Regions from separate parts of the Homo sapiens genome. Here region 1 is linked to region 2. Evidence: promoter capture Hi-C in 16 types of primary human blood cells and fetal thymus (Javierre and others, 2016). All regions are on one chromosome and are shown on one strand. Each heading gives the region's core, a stretch centred on a gene start or on the middle of the fragment in contact. The rest is flanking DNA. Distances are from core to core; before and after follow the strand shown.

The links. The method cuts DNA at HindIII sites, captures the fragments that hold promoters and counts their contacts. A CHiCAGO score of 5 or more calls a contact.
Region 1: a contact is called between the fragment with the promoter of TNFSF12 here and the fragment with the promoter of CHRNB1 in region 2, in 6 of 17 cell types (total CD8 T cells, endothelial precursors, naive CD8 T cells and 3 more). The highest score is 8.1, in total CD8 T cells.

Annotation. Positions count from the first base shown.
Region 1 is chr17:7,547,516-7,552,359 of GRCh38, forward strand. TNFSF12 (TNF superfamily member 12) reads left to right here and starts at 1,543. Exons shown (of 7, transcript NM_003809.3): 1 at 1,543-1,797; 2 at 1,959-2,006; 3 at 2,605-2,680; 4 at 3,284-3,337; 5 at 3,428-3,463. The coding sequence starts at 1,639. It overlaps TNFSF12-TNFSF13 (TNFSF12-TNFSF13 readthrough), which reads left to right and starts at 1,543. Exons shown (of 11, transcript NM_172089.4): 1 at 1,543-1,797; 2 at 1,959-2,006; 3 at 2,605-2,680; 4 at 3,284-3,337; 5 at 3,428-3,463. The coding sequence starts at 1,639. RefSeq lists silencers at 1,438-1,627, 1,658-1,737. The HindIII fragment of the contact is 9,939 bases long and covers 1-4,844 here.
Region 2 is chr17:7,441,739-7,446,802 of GRCh38, forward strand. It overlaps CHRNB1 (cholinergic receptor nicotinic beta 1 subunit), which reads left to right and starts at 3,323. Exons shown (of 11, transcript NM_000747.3): 1 at 3,323-3,447; 2 at 3,532-3,671; 3 at 4,331-4,375. The coding sequence starts at 3,390. It overlaps FGF11 (fibroblast growth factor 11), which reads left to right. Exons shown (of 5, transcript NM_004112.4): 3 at 38-141; 4 at 856-1,054; 5 at 1,338-3,199. The coding sequence ends at 1,408. RefSeq lists a silencer at 3,395-3,444. The HindIII fragment of the contact is 9,289 bases long and covers 2,409-5,064 here.

The sequences.
Region 1 (4,844 bases), core at 293-2,792, 100 kb after region 2:
TGGAGATTCTAACTGCTTTTCTTTCTTTGCATACTCTTTTTTTTTTTTTTTTTTTTGACAGGGTCTTACTCTGTTGCTCGTGTTGGAATGCAGTGGTGTGATCACAGCTCACTGCAGCCTCAACCTCCCAGGCTCAGGTGATCCTCCCATCTCAACCTCCTGAGTAGCTGGGACTACAGGCATGCACCACCATGCCCAGCTCTATGGATGCTTTTTCTTGACTCTCTTTAAGTATATTAGGTAGTACTCTTTGTATCCTGAATTATCTCTGTTTCCTCCAATGTCAAATTTTGTTTGTTAATTTTGGTCTTTCTTTCTTTTTTTTTTTTTTTGAGATAGGGTCTTGCTGTGTTGCCCAGGCTGGAGTGTGGTGGCGTGATCTCAGCTCTCTGCAACCTCTGTCTCCTGGGTTCAAGCAATTCTCTGCCTCAGCTTCCCGAGTAGCTGGGAACTACAGGCGCCTGCCACCACGTCCGGCTAATTTTTTTGTATTTTTATTAGAGACAGGGTTTCACCATCTTGGCCAGGCAGGTCTCGATCTCCTGACCTCGTGATCCACCCGCCTCAGCCTCCCAAAGTGCTGCGATTACAGGCGTGAACCATCGCGCCCAGCCAATTTTGGTCCTTCCTTCCTTCCTTCCTTCCTTCCTTCCTTCCTTCCTTCCTTCCCTCCTTCCCTCCCTCCCTCCCTCCCTCCTTTCTTTCTTTCTTCCTTTCTTTCTTTCTTTTTGAGACAAGGTCTGTTGCCCAGGCTGGAGTGTAGTGGTGCAATCACAGCTCACTGCAGCCTCAAACTCCTGGGCTCAAACAATCCTCCTACCTCGGCCTCCTGAGTAGCTGGGACTACAGGCGTGGGCTAATTTTTTAAAACTTTTCTGTAGAGATGGGGTCTTGCTCTTGCCCAGGCTGATCTTGAACTCCTGGCCCCCAGCCTTGGCCTTCTGGGATTACAGGCGTAAGCCACCTGCCGGACCAATTTTGGTGTTTCTTTTGCATGCTGCTGGTCCTCCTCAGATGCTTGGCAATCATTGGTAATGATGGGCTTCAGAACGTGCTACCGGCACAGTGAGTGTTTTAAGCTGAAGGAATTTGAGAAAACCGCAGAAGCCGAAGGATCTTTCTTACCTTCTCCTGCCCTTCTTCCCTGAACCAGGTCATACAACCTGGAACTCCCTGCCCTTTTCCTGAAGAAGCAAATAACAGCCTCCTGCGAGAGGCGCCCTCCCTGCACCTGGGGGAAAGGAGGGTCCTTATCTCTGAAGACACAGGGACACAGAAGAATCTGAACCAACAGGCCTTCCTGAGTTCCCCACCTCCCCGCAGGAGGTGCCCGCACACGCATAGCCCCGTCGCTCCCGCGGCCGCACGCAACGGACCTCGCCCTGGTGGTGCACGCCCGGGCTGGGCGCTCAGAGGTCGGGTGGGCGCCCACTCCGTTCGCTGCGCGCACAGCGCCCGGCGAGAGGCTCGGAGTTTGATCACACACAGCGTCCGGCTTCCTGTCCCCAGCGCCCCCTCCCGCCCCGTTTCCCTTGCCCCTCCCTCTCCCCGGCCCGATCCGCCCGCCGGCTCCCCCTCCCCCGATCCCTCGGGTCCCGGGATGGGGGGGCGGTGAGGCAGGCACAGCCCCCCGCCCCCATGGCCGCCCGTCGGAGCCAGAGGCGGAGGGGGCGCCGGGGGGAGCCGGGCACCGCCCTGCTGGTCCCGCTCGCGCTGGGCCTGGGCCTGGCGCTGGCCTGCCTCGGCCTCCTGCTGGCCGTGGTCAGTTTGGGGAGCCGGGCATCGCTGTCCGCCCAGGTGAGGCCCCGCTGCGCACCCCTTCTTGGGCACATCAGGAGCTGAGACTGCAGAGGGGCCGCTGGGGGCCGCGTGGGCTGAAGGCAAGGGGAAGGGAGGATGGGTGGAGGGTGAGATGTCAGGTGGAGCGGCACAGGGTGACGCTCCCTCCTTCCCAGCAGGAGCCTGCCCAGGAGGAGCTGGTGGCAGAGGAGGACCAGGACCCGTCGGTGAGTGGGCGTGGGCGCGGTCTGCAGGCTGCTGGGGCATGGGAAGTGTGCACAGCCGAGGCTGCAGGTGTGTGCAGCTGTGCCAGCCGTACTCGAGGTGTGTGCAGGGTGTGTGTGAACACAGTGCGTGCATGGGTGCGTGTCTGCAGGGGTGTGTGTGCGTGGTGACAACTCTGTGTGAGGGGTTTGTGCTGGGGTTGTGCCACCTGAGTCTGAGGTGTTTATTGGCTGGGGGTGACGTGGTTGTATAAGATATGTGAGTCTGCGTGGAAGAGGGGTGCGGTTGTGTACAGGGTGTGTATCCTCTGTGCGTGGTGACTGGGTGCGGGCATGTGTGCAATGTGCCAATTGAATGCAGGGTCTGCGTTGGTTGTGTGTGTGGGTGGGAAAGTGTAGCTGGTCTAGAGGAAAGGGTGAGGACTGGGGCCTGACTCCCAGCTTCACCTTTGCCCGGGGCCCCAGCTGTAGTTGGCTGAGGGGCTTAATCTGTCCCTGACTTCTGTGTCTATTGCTGGCTGGTGGCTCTCCTGACAGGCCCCGTATGTCTCACTTTATATCTCTGGGAGTCTGTGGTTGAACCCTGCCCTAATTCCCCTAGGAACTGAATCCCCAGACAGAAGAAAGCCAGGATCCTGCGCCTTTCCTGAACCGACTAGTTCGGCCTCGCAGAAGTGGTGAGCATCCCTCTATCCCAACCTCAGGAAGCGGGCAGAGCAAAAACCATTATCCACAGGGAGAAACTGAGGCACGGAGGGTGAAAGGAGTTCAGAGTCATGCAGCTAACCAGCCAAGACTCAAACCTAGGGATTCTCGCCCTCCTCTGAAGCTCCTTCTGTCATATGGATGTGCTCCTTCAGACCCTACCCCAAACAGGAAGGCAGGGTGGCCATGAGTTAGAAGAACTACTGGGATCCTGATGGAGACTAGGCCTGGCAGTCAGAGGCCTGGGCCCCGGTAGGCAAAGAGACTTAGGAATGGGATGATGGGGTGGCCGGATGACCACGTGTCCAAGTCGGCATGCAGTTGTCCTGGCCCCCACCTGTTATCTCGGTGTGATTAATAGCAGCTTCCCGTTTTGCTCTCAGCAGTATCCCAGTGTGGATGACAAATTATAGTCACTCTACTTACTGAGGAAGATGAGGCCTGAGATTCTAAGGCCAGGAGTCTGGACAAGAATAAGGATGCCAGGGTTCCTGAGAGGGGAATGGGGCTGGGAGAGTTGCTCTGGGACCCCCACTAGGGCCCGCTTTGCTCATCTGTCTTTCCTTGATCCTCAGCACCTAAAGGCCGGAAAACACGGGCTCGAAGAGCGATCGCAGCCCATTATGAAGGTGGGTGATGGGTGAGCCATACCCAGGAGGAGAGGGGCAGGTGGCAGAGGGTCAGGGCAGGTCTCACCAGCCTTTTCCTGTACTTTACAGTTCATCCACGACCTGGACAGGACGGAGCGCAGGCAGGTGAGACCCCATCCCCCGACACAGCACTGGCCTCCTGGGAAAAGGGCCCTTGAAAACCTTTGACCTCCCACTCCCTTCCCGGCCATCAGTCTCAGAACCACAGAAGCCAGTTCATGAAGGTCTTGGTTCTCTCTGTGACCCAGGCGTGGGACCCCATGAAAGACCCCTACTCTTCCCCAGAACTCTGCCCAGTTCCCCCAGCAAATCACTGTCCCAGCTCTCTCCTTCAGCCCTCATTCTTCTCCAAGAAGCACTTTTCATTCTTTTTTCTTCTGTCTCCTCCATATTCCACGTTCTGATGATCTTTTTCTCTAAATGCTGCTAGTGTCTGCTCATCTTTTCCATTTCTACCCCACCCTCTACCTCAGCACCGTGACCTCAGAACCTCAAATCCAGCCTCTTGCTGCTTCCCCACTCCACACCCTCCCTACCCCTCCACTCCATCTGACCTGTGCTGCCATGCTGAGCCCCTAAACTTCACTTTTCTTGTGGTATTGGCTCTCTACATGGCTTCCAGTCTCTTCGTGGTCTGGTCTCAACCTAATTTCCCTGCACTCTTATGCTGTCTTCATGTTTGCTGCGCTGACACCCCTGCTCCCGGTGTGCCTCTTCTGGACTTTGCACATACCATCCCCCTCACCAGAATGTCTTTCCACTGTGAGAGGCAGGGAGGCATGAGGAGTGCTCAGCCGAGGGGTTCACAGCAGAGATGGTGAGAAGTGGATGGGTTCAGCCTGTGTCCTGAAGATATTACTGACTTATGGGTTGGAGGTGAAGAATAAAAGAAAGGGAGGAATCACAGATGACTTCTAGATTTTTTATTTTTTTTAAGACAGTCTCGCTCTGTCACCCAGGCTGGAGTGCAGTGGTGCAATCTCGGCTTACTGCAACCTCTGCCTCCCAGGTTCAAGAGATTCCCGTCTCAGCCTTCCAAGTAGCTGGGATTACAGGCGTGTGCCACCACGCCTGGCTAATTTTTGTATTTTTAGTAGAGATGGGGTTTTGCCATGTTTTCCAGGCTGGTCTCAAACTCTTGACCTCCAGTGATCTGCCCGCCTCGGCCTACCAAAGTGCTGGGATTACAGGCATGAGCCACTGCACCCAGCCAGCTTCTAGATTTTTAACTTGGGTATCTCTGGGAAGAATGATGCCATTTCCTAAGAAGGGATTGACCAAGGAATAAATAGGTTGGGAAGTATGTAAGATAATTATTAACGTTGAGAAGTCTAAAATAAACAAGCGGATAAATGACAATAAAGTAAATTCCAGAAATGGATGGCTGGACATTGTCGACTAGCTTAGGCTAGGTCAGGACGGATAAAGCCAGGAGTCATGGCCATATGGATGGCTTTTTTTTTTTTTTTTTTGAGACAGAGTCTCG
Region 2 (5,064 bases), core at 2,073-4,572:
AGGCCTGGGTATTGATGCTCCCTCTCTCCACCTGCAGCCCACTTCAACCTGATCCCTGTGGGCCTCCGTGTGGTCACCATCCAGAGCGCCAAGCTGGGTCACTACATGGCCATGAATGCTGAGGGACTGCTCTACAGTTCGGTGAGACAATGAGGCTGAGTGGCCGGGAAATACTGGGGACTCCCCTTCCTCAATTTGTCCCTTGAGGGAATGACAACCTTCCTCAACTACAGACATTTTGCCCGGGACTCCTCCCTCCAGCTTTGCTGATGGCCTGTCATCGCTGCCCATTCCAGACCAGCTCCTCTAGGGTCTCTCCAGTCCCCACTCCTTGCACACCCCCAAAACAGCCCCAGGTTCTTTGAATGTCCAACTCTTTCTGCCTTTTAGGGCCCCTACTTCTTATCCCACCTCCTCCAGATTTTGTCATTACTCACTTCCCTAGAGTCATCCAGGATAGGGGATAGTGAGAGACTGGGAGTACAGTGGAGAGAAGGAATCTTATTGCAAGACCCCTAAAAGTCTAGTTCTTTTTTTTTTTTTTAAATAGTGACAGGGTCTTGCTATGTTGGCCAGGCTGGTCTGGAACTCCTGACCTCAGGTGATCCACCCGCCTCGGCCTCCCAAAGTGTTGGGATTATAGGCATGAGCCACTGTGCTTGGCCCAGAGCCTAGTTCTTAGCCCTCAGCCCTCTTCCTTGTCCTCCCTTTGCTCCCAGGTCCTACATGGACTCAGAAGTTGTCCTCCCCCTCCCCCAAAAAGGATTTGTGCTTTCCATGAGCTCCTTTCTGCCCAGTGATGTGTCTTTTTATCTCTCTGTCTTTGTGCGCCTTTCTGGGTCTTTGTCTCCTTAGCCGCATTTCACAGCTGAGTGTCGCTTTAAGGAGTGTGTCTTTGAGAATTACTACGTCCTGTACGCCTCTGCTCTCTACCGCCAGCGTCGTTCTGGCCGGGCCTGGTACCTCGGCCTGGACAAGGAGGGCCAGGTCATGAAGGGAAACCGAGTTAAGAAGACCAAGGCAGCTGCCCACTTTCTGCCCAAGCTCCTGGAGGGTGGGTATAGACTCAAGAAAATGTGGGCCACAGGAGAGGGTATTGACCTTGATATGGACATTTAGGGGCAGACAGCTCAGGCTACAAGTGATAAGAGGACCCTTTGTGACAGATCAAGCCAGGAAGGCTTTGCCCTTTGGGGGTTTGGGTGCGGTCCTCCTGTGGGGTTGGGGTTCTTGGAGGGTGAATGTACGGGAAGGGAGCCCTTTTGGAGCACTGGTTCTGCCTGGGTCCCTCTGTGCCTAACTCTCCTTCCCTGCTCCTCTCTTTCTCCCCTTCACAGTGGCCATGTACCAGGAGCCTTCTCTCCACAGTGTCCCCGAGGCCTCCCCTTCCAGTCCCCCTGCCCCCTGAAATGTAGTCCCTGGACTGGAGGTTCCCTGCACTCCCAGTGAGCCAGCCACCACCACAACCTGTCTCCCAGTCCTGCTCTCACCCCTGCTGCCACACACATGCCCTGAGCAGCCAGGTCCCACTAGGTGCTCTACCCTGAGGGAGCCTAGGGGCTGACTGTGACTTCCGAGGCTGCTGAGACCCTTAGATCTTTGGGCCTAGGAGGGAGTCAGAGAGGGGGATGTCTGAAGATGGTCCTGGCTGATCACTTCTTTCTTTCCACACTCACACAACGCCATGCCTTTTCCTGAGATGGCGCTGGGAGTTCCCACATGGACAGCCAGGGCATAAACACTTCCCACCCCGGCTCAGCCAGTTCCTGGAGTCCTGTGCCCCTTTTCATTGCCACTGAGCCATTTCTAGATTCACTGGAGCTCAGGATTCATGTGTCCTTCTTTCCCTACTCTACCTTCTACCTTGGTCTGGACACATTCTGGAACACTGGACACCCTCGCCAGGGCCACTTCTGCACTAGGGCTCTGTGCTGGAACCCAGGCATGCTGCCAGCCTTTTCTCTGGATCTGTCAGGCCTCTGTCATTGACTCAGATGGACCCCTGGTTTCCAAGTAGAAAGAGGCTAGATTTGGGCCTTGTCTAGCTGTTGGCTTTGGCCTGAACCGGAACCAGTCTCAGATGACCACGGGTTTAACCTTCTTATCCCAGAGACACCCAATTCTAGAGCTTTATGGAGCCGTACTTCCCCCTGAATCCTAGCTCTAGGACATAGATCATGACTCTCAGCCCTTTTACCCAGGATGGAGCTGGGGCCTGTATAGCCATATTATTGTTCTAAGTAAGTTCTAGCCCCACCCTCCCGCCTTCTTGAGTGATACCTATTACGGATGAGTTCTGGAAAAGACCCAGCTATGATTCATAAAAACACTTCTGGATGAATCAAGAACCATTTCTTGTTTTTCCTAGATAATTCTCTAAAAATATGATTCTTCCATATAGAATGCTAAGCTTATTTTTACATGCAGTTTCTAGCTCCTTCAACCCAGCTGAGGTCGTGCCAGGGAGACAGAGTCTGGAGAAGGGCAGAGGAATTTTGGAAGGATCCCTGGCTCATAGTAGGGAAGCTGGGATGGGGGAGGGGTCAAAATTATGGCATGACTGAACCTGCATCTGTGTTGGGTGGACATGAATACTTAGCTACCTCAGCAGGAATTCCTTCCAGGTCCCCTTTAAAGCTGAGGTCCTTAGAGTAATATGTCCTTAATAAAAAGGACAAATGGATACAGCCTTGACCCTCCCAGTGAGGAGACCCCAATTCAGCAATAAGTCTCACCCTTCTCCCCTACAGGTCAGGCCAAGAAGGGTGAAGGCCTCTTGCACTCCAGACCTCATACGCCCCAACAGCTTCTAATTGGATAGAACTTGCTTTACCTTACAGCTCACAACCTCAGCTGGGTTTTAGGTACCCAAAAAGGGCCTGTCTAGATTTTTTCAGAAAAACGTGGAGTGCTAGGGGCAGCCTGGAAAAGATGGGGAACCTGCTAGTGAACTAGGAGGGAGACTTCCATAGCCTCAGACTTGGATAGGGTAGGCTGAGGGGGCCCTAAGGGAGGGACTAAGGCTCCAAGGCAGGTCACTTTTCCTTAGGCTGTTCTACTTCTGGCTTGTTGCAAGAGGAGTAGATGCCCCCTCACCCACACAAACCCCACTCAGTCTCCACCCAACTCCTGGCACTGCTCCCAGGGGATCGGGTCTCCACTCCAGCTTTCTCAATTAAAGACGATTTATACAACTGAAGTGCTGTCTGTCATCTGTCGGTGGCGGGCTTGGCAGTTGCTCGAGGCAGGATCAAGTCCCGGGGGCGGGGCGGGTGGGCTGGCGGCTGTCCTCCAGCAACAGGTGCACATTCCCGGGCTCCTCGTCACTTCCCCTGTGCTGGCGGTCCCAGCGGCTCTCTGAGCGAAGTCACTGAGCGAGCCGCCAGGCTATGACCCCAGGGGCTCTGCTGATGCTGCTGGGGGCGCTGGGGGCGCCGCTCGCCCCAGGTAAGTGTAGGCCCCGAAGGGGCAGTGACGGGGCCAGCGGTCGTGGCCAGGCACCAGGGCTGCACTTATTCTCTCCTCCCCCAGGCGTCCGCGGCTCGGAGGCGGAGGGTCGACTCCGGGAGAAACTTTTCTCTGGCTATGATAGCTCCGTGCGGCCAGCGCGGGAGGTGGGAGACCGTGTCAGGGTCAGCGTTGGTCTCATCCTGGCGCAACTCATCAGCCTGGTGAGGGCGCGCGGGGGGTGGAGGTCAGGCCAGCCGACCGGCCGGGGGCGTGGCTTTAGGCAAGGCCGGACCAGGGACAGGCTGGGGGCGGGGCCTGGGACGAGACCAGGCTGAGATGGACCAGCCTTTGGTGAAGATTGGATCGAAATCAGACCAATGGACAAGCTCTGGCCGTGGGTGGTGGACGGGCCTGGAGTAGAACTGGGTAGGGTGAAGGACGGACCTGTGATCGGACCTTAAAGTGGGGCTGGGGACGAGGCAGGGGCTGGGGGACGGACCTCGACGTAGGGCCACATGAGTCCTGAGTGCCCAGGGTGGGGCGGAGCTTGGTGCTCAGGGGTCAATAAATGGCAGCGGGTGGAGGTTCGGGGCTGGGTGGATTATGAGCTGAAGGCAGGGCCGGGGACAGAGCTAGGCGGAGGGCTAGGCAGGGGCGGGTCTGGTAGGTTGATAGGCTGGGAGTGTAGACGGCAGGAAGAGGTGTTTCTGAGATAGAGGCAGGTCTTAAACTAACGCCGCTTCTGGGAGGTGGACTTGGACCCGAGAGGATGGGGCTCAGAAAAAGGGGGCGGCGTTCCCAGGAGAGAGGTTGGCCCCCCGAGCCCCCTCATTTCTCTCCACCCTACTTCACCTTTACGCCTTAAATTTTTCCCTTCTAGAACGAGAAGGATGAAGAGATGAGCACAAAGGTGTACTTAGACCTGGTATGGAGACCCCACGGGGTGGGAAAGGGCTTCCCTCTGCCTTGACAATTTCCTTGAATATCCAGCCCAGTAAGAATATTTTTTACATCATGACTTTAGATAACACGTTTATAACTGAAGCAAAAGCTCGAAGAAACAACACTTAACTTTACTACAGGAGTTACACCCCATGCATTTTTAATTCCAATTTTGTGTGTGTGTGTGTGTGTGTGTCTGTGTGTGTGTGTGTGTGTGTGTGTGTGTGTGTGTGTGTGTGTGTGATGCGGTCTCACTATGTTGCACAGGCTGTTCTTGAATGCGGGGGCTCGAGCCATCCACCAGCCTCGGGGGGAACCTCCACAAGTGCTGAGATTACAGCCGTGAGCCACTGCACCTGGCCCATTCTAATTTTTGAAACACTGGTTTGGGGCCGCTAATTTCATTCCCCATCCACTAAAGGATTGCGAACTGCAGTTTGAAAACCGTTTTAGAGGCTAGCTACTGCAGCCTCCTCATTTTTACAGAGTAAAATATTGAAACCCGGTGCGGGGGAGGGAAATTAGCTGATGTGGATCCCAGCGAGTGAAGGCGGAGCCAGAGCCAGAACCACGGCCCCTTGACCCACAGTTTATGCCTGTCCTGCTCCCCTTCCTTGCACTCCCTTCCTGGGCTTCCTTTGGAAATCCCAAGTCCCTCCCGGCCTCCAACCC